Regions from separate parts of the Homo sapiens genome. Here region 2 is linked to region 1. Evidence: promoter capture Hi-C in 16 types of primary human blood cells and fetal thymus (Javierre and others, 2016). All regions are on one chromosome and are shown on one strand. The core of a region is centred on a gene start or on the middle of the fragment in contact, and the rest is flanking DNA. Distances in the headings are between cores, read along the strand shown. Region 1 holds the start of MYL5 (myosin light chain 5). Region 2 overlaps UVSSA (UV stimulated scaffold protein A).

Evidence for each region. The method cuts DNA at HindIII sites, captures the fragments that hold promoters and counts their contacts. A CHiCAGO score of 5 or more calls a contact.
Region 2: a fragment that was not itself captured here is called in contact with the fragment with the promoter of MYL5 in region 1 in 2 of 17 cell types (naive B cells and total B cells); the score reaches 5.6 in naive B cells.

What each region holds. Positions count from the first base shown.
Region 1 is chr4:673,142-675,967 of GRCh38, reverse strand. MYL5 (myosin light chain 5) reads right to left here and starts at 1,426. Exons shown (of 9, transcript NM_002477.2): 1 at 1,285-1,426. ATP5ME (ATP synthase membrane subunit e) reads left to right here and starts at 1,692. Exons shown (of 4, transcript NM_007100.4): 1 at 1,692-1,756; 2 at 2,002-2,056; 3 at 2,567-2,665. The coding sequence starts at 1,721. RefSeq lists enhancers at 856-925, 803-1,560 and a silencer at 1,136-1,405. The HindIII fragment of the contact is 4,723 bases long and covers 1-2,826 here.
Region 2 is chr4:1,348,528-1,351,353 of GRCh38, reverse strand. UVSSA (UV stimulated scaffold protein A) reads right to left here. Exons shown (of 14, transcript NM_020894.4): 3 at 1,500-1,830. Among named protein-coding and RNA genes, the nearest start is that of UVSSA, 2.7 kb to the right of the region's middle. RefSeq lists a silencer at 235-403. The HindIII fragment of the contact is 269 bases long and covers 1,272-1,540 here.

The DNA.
Region 1 (2,826 bases), core at 177-2,676:
TAACCTTTTTGGCGCCTGGGACAGGTTTCACGGAGGACAGTTTTTCCGTGTTGGGGAGGAAGGTTTCGGGATGAAACTATTCCACCTCAGTTCATCAGGCATTAGATTCTCACCAGAGCGCAATCCAGATCCAAGTGCGCAGCTCACAGTAGGGTTCACGCTCCTATGGGAATCTGATGCCCAGGCTGATCTGAAAGTGGGTGGAGCTCGGGCAATCATGCTCCCTCACCTCGTCCTGTGCTGCCCGGTTCCTAACGGGCCACAAGCTGGTACTGGTCTGCACCTGGGGGTTGGGGACCCCTGCCCTATAGGACTGGCCTTGGTATACCCAGCTCAGGAAACAGAGCCCAGTGACTTCCTAGTTTCTCAGCCAGAGAGGCCCAGGCCCTGGACCCCAGAGCAAGCCAGGAGAGGGGGCAGAGGCGACTTAGGCCCGGACAGGTAGCCCAGGCCGCCAGGATCACGGGTCCTCCCCATGCTTGCTTCAAGAGTCCTGGAGTTTGTGATGCTGCACCTTAGCGAGACCCGAGCCATAGTTCTCCAGTTGCTTCTGCCTGTAGCAGTGCAGGGCCAGGAGGGGACACAGGAGGCCTTGCGTCACTACTGCATGGGGCCAAAGGGGGCCCGAGGGTGGCCCAGCACGGGCAGCATGGCTGCCGCCAGGAAGACCCAGAACGTGGAGGGGGTGCCAGGCTCCTGCCTAGACTCCAAGCCTGGTGTCCATGGGGCTGGCGGGTCAGCACTTCGGGCACAGCGGGGAGGCTGCATAGGCACCGCAGGCCCCATCTCTGGGCAGCTGTGGGAGACACACAGCTACCGGGAGGTGGACAGAGGCCAGCAAAGACCAGTGTGGGGCTCAGTGGTCCCCAGGCCTGGGCCGGGGCAGGCCCTTGGAGCCGTGGAGTCCTGAGGCCTGGAGTCGGGGGACCCAGGGAGCAGCCTCTGTTGGGGGCTGGTCTTCCCAAGAAGATCCCAGCCCCTCTTCGGGACAGAAGTGATGGGGCATCCTGGGGTGAGGAAGCTCCAGCTCCGGGATGAAGGGCGCCCCGTGCTCCCGGGCAGAGCAGCCGCAGGAAGAGGGGCCTGGAGGCCATGCTCCCGCGGGCCGCGGAATCCAACGCGGCCCGGCCGGCGACAGACACTACTGCCTTGTAGGAGAAGGACCTGCCCGGGGAGCCACCTGCACTCGGCTCACACTCCGCTCCCAGGACCCCCAGGTCCCTGCCCAGGCCACCCTCGGGTGGGCGCGGTCCGCGGGGCTGGACCCGCCCGAGCCGCCCTGACCTCAGGCCTCCGACGCTCCGCGCAAGAAGACAGAGTGCGCCCCGGCCCGCAGTCTGGGGTGTGGACACACGGCCAGGACGCGGACGGCGGGGCCTCGGCAGCAGCGCGGGGAAACAGCGGACCCCCAGCCCTGCGGGGAAAGGAAACCCCCCGCCCACTCGGCGCAGATCCCGCCTCACGCAGCAACTGCGCAGGCGCAGCCGATGATCCTCCGCGCACTCCCCAGCCTTTGTGCGCGTGCGCCTCACGTGACGTCACCGCCGCGCGGGGGCGCGCAGTCACCCTTCGGTCGCCAGGGGGCGCGGCCCCCCGCTCTCTCGCCGCTGACGGCGCATGCGTGCGCCCAGCTCCGCCTTTGCCTCCAAGGCTTTGCTGGCTTGTGCGGCATCCTGCTCCGTCTGCAGGTTGTGCTTCCGGTGCGGAGGTCAGGGACAAGATGGTGCCACCGGTGCAGGTCTCTCCGCTCATCAAGGTGATCCAGGCTTTGCAGCCGCCGCCCAGTGCTCTGGGCCCCCCCGTGTCCCGCCCCGCAGCTCCGACCCCGCGGGCTGCGACCCCCGGCCCCCGCCCCCATGATCCTCGCCCCGTGACCCTCGCCCGGCGACCGGACCCCCACCCCTCCTGCGACCTCTGCCCAGCGACCCCGCCCCCCCTCCTCCCGCGACCCCCGTCCCGCGAGCCCCGTTTCGCGCCGCCTCTGACCAACCTCTTTCGCAGCTCGGCCGCTACTCCGCCCTGTTCCTCGGTGTGGCCTACGGAGCCACGCGCTACAGTGAGTGACCGCGGGCGGGGCCGGGGCGGGGTCTGCTCGGCTTTCCTGTGGAGCTCCTGTGCTATTTGGAGAACTCCAGCTCTGGAAGGGGGCTTGGGACGCATGCGAGGCTGCAGGACCGTGTCCTCCACCGAGCGTGACCCCGATAGTGGAATCAGCTCACCCAAAGCTCAGGCTTCTGAGGCCCGGGCGGGGGACTCGAAAACGGCTGCTTCTTGGTGAAAACGGGTGCTAAATGGCTGTTCGAGTGCTGAGGTCTTGATGGGAGGCAGTCCCTGTTCGCAGAGGACGAGTGAGCCAGTGCGTGAGCGGGTGGGCAGCAGGGGCCCTGTAGCCTCTGGGTTGGACTCGTCAGGGTGAAGGTCAGGCGTTGACTCGCATTAACATAAAGAGCGGGAACAGCAGGTGCGTCTGGTTTACAGCGTCGCTGAAGATACCTTGACCTGTGGACTCAGTTCCTTTTGTACAGCATTTCCAGTGAATTTTATTCTCCTGCATTCCGCCAAACAGATTACCTAAAACCTCGGGCAGAAGAGGAGAGGAGGATAGCAGCAGAAGAGAAGAAGAAGCAGGATGAACTGAAACGGATTGCCAGAGAATTGGCAGAAGGTACGAGTGACACTGGCTCTTATAGATTGTCCCTCCCAGGTTTGTGCAGGGATAAGGAAAATGGAGGAGGACATTTAAGCAGAGCTAAGTAGATGCGGATTGTTTAAAAATGGGGAAGCTGGCCAGGCGTGGTGGCTCATGCCTGTATCCCAGCACTTTGG
Region 2 (2,826 bases), core at 157-2,656, 680 kb before region 1:
AGTGGCTCATGCCTGTCACCCCAGCACTTTGGGAGGCCGAAGCAGGTGGGTCACAAGGTCAGGAGATTGAGACCATCCTGGCTAACACGGTGAAATCCCATCTCTACTAAAAATACAAAAATTAGCCGGGCGTGGTGGGGGGTGCTTGTAGTCCCAGCTACTTGGGAGGCTGAGGCAGGAGAATGGCGTGAACCCGGGAGGTGGAGCTTGCAGTGAGCTGAGATCGCACCACTGCACTCCAACCTGGGCAACAAAGCAATACTCCATCTTAAAAACAAAAAATAGCCAGGTGTGGTGGCGTGTGCCTGTAGTCCCAGCTACTTGGGAGGCTGAGGCAGGAGGATCACTTGGACCAGGGAGGCGGAGGTTGCAGTGAGCCGAGATCGCGCCACTGCACTCTAGCCTGGGTGACAAACCAAGACCCTGTCTCAAAAACAACATCATCAACAACAACAACAAAAACTAGAGCTATCTATACAGAATGTGAGGAAGATAAAGCTCAAGTAGGCCTAACAAAAGACAGCACCCATGCGTGGCCAAGAGCCCTATGCGTCTGTAAGTTCACAGTAGTTTTTTTTTTTTTTTTTAAGAGACAACGGTCTTGCTGTGTTACCAAGGCTGGACTCAAACTCCCAGGACCAGGTGATCCACCAGCCTCGGCTTCCAGAGTCAGTGGGACTGTGGGTGTGCACCCTCACACCCAGGTGTTCACAGTGCATTACAACAAAACACAATGCACGTCTCTCTGCTGTCTGAGCCCGGGAAAGCCAGCACGTCTGCTAACTTAAAAGAGGTGACGAGACTTCTCACCCCAAGTACCTCACAGGTAGGAGAGCAGTGTGCTTGTTCCATTAGCAGGCAGAGGCTGCTGACTGGACCCAGGAGTCTGAAACAAACCCTGAGCATGAACCCTGGGAGACAGGGCACTCCAAGGGCACACAGGGAAGCCAGCAGGGCTGGGTCATTGCACTGGGGAGGACTGAGCCTTCGTGGCAGGTGGGGTAAGGGGCACGGTAGGGTCTGGGCAATGAGGCTGGGTTCAGGCCACAGTGGCAGATCCTGGTGGGTTTCATCATGCCAGGCACCAGCCCGAGCCCATAGTAGGGTGCGGGTGGAGCCTTAAAGTGCAAGGTTGGGACAGGTCCCAGAGTCCAGGGGCCACTGTCACAGAAAACGTTGCATCTGAAAAGTTGGATTTGGCTTTTCCTTTGTCTCCTACACGCACATAAAAAATGACACATGCAGCCTCAGCTCCACCCACACATAAAGCTTATGCTCTTCCTCTCAGAGCTGCGCCGCCCCTCTCAGGGAGGCCGTGACCCTAGATGCTGCCCTCTTTCCCACACCCCACAGATGGTCTGGCAGCCTGGGTGTTCAGGCAAGGCCAAGCAGGCCCCTGCTGTGCTAGGTTCAACAGGAGGCGCATCTTCACCCTGGTATCGTCTGCCCTCCTCACGTCAGGTAACCAGTCTCTGAAAAAATGGGCCAGGCCCACCTACCTTTTTGTTGTGTCTTAAGAAGTGGTAGCCCAAGGCAAGCTTCTTGTAGGCCTCCCCAAACTTCTCATTCCACCCTTCCACGGCCCGGGTGGTCGCCTGCCTCAGCCTCTGTGCCGCCTCCCTGGGGGGCGGCAGAGGCTGTGCGGGGTCTGTGCCCAGCGTGAGCTCCAGGAACTCCTGGAAGTTGGAAACAACCAGCATCCGGAACTGGTGAGACCTGACGAAGAGTTCCTCCACAATCTGGAAGGCTGAGAGACGGATCTCGGCGTGCTCCTGGGTCAGCTGTGCTATCAGCAGGCGGTAGGCGCGGCTCAGCTGCTCCTCTGAAGACCTGGGGATGCGAGCTGGCCTGACCCAACTGCCCCACACGCAGAGGATGGGCGGGGGGAGACTCTCCGTGCATGGATGCCGCACGCACGTGTGGCAGGGACCACCACTGCCTTCCCATCTTCATTCTCCCCTTTTCTAGAGCAGGGTCTGCAAACTACTGCCCAAGGGCCACATCTACCTCCCCAGCCCCTGCCTGTTTCTGTGTGGCCCACAAGCCAAGAATGTCAATACAAACAAAAAATACTTGGTGAAATGTGAAAATCATATACACTTCAAATGTCGGTGTTCATTCACAAAGTGTCATTGGAACGTCGCCCATCTATCCACCTACATCATCTACAGCTGTGTTCACAACTGAGGCATTACAGCAAAGCCTGAAACACAAACCATCTGGCTCTTTAAACACACGTTACCTAGCGCAACACACACCGCCCGGCACAAACGCCCACCGCCCGGCACAAACGCCAACCGCCCGGCACAAACACACACCGCCTGGCACAAACCGCACACCGCCCGGCACAACGCACACCGCCCGGCACAAACACACACCGCCTGGCACAACGCACACCGCCCAGCACGCACACTGTTTCAGCTGGGTGCCTCCTGCTGCAGGAAGGAAGGAAGGCCTAGAGCTCGGGACATCTCCCAGCCCCTCCTGAATGCTCCTATTCCCAGCTCCTGACCCCACATAAACCATTGCGAATTCGATTTCCTGGCGCAGGCCACAAAACCTGACCTGAAATTTTCTATCAAAATGTCAACACTCCATCACTGTATAAACAATCTATAAACTGCCATTTTACAAACACAGGATACAGAATAATCAGTGTCCTCGACTTATGCTCCACCCTCCGAGGGGAAGTTTTGCTTCCCCCATGAATCTCTGGCTGCCTGAGGGTGACGGCAGAGATCCCCTCCGGCGTTTTCCTTGGAGGAAGTGAACAGAGGTGGACATACCCTAAAGGCGATGGACCAACTCGCCCATCAGCAAGCTCTA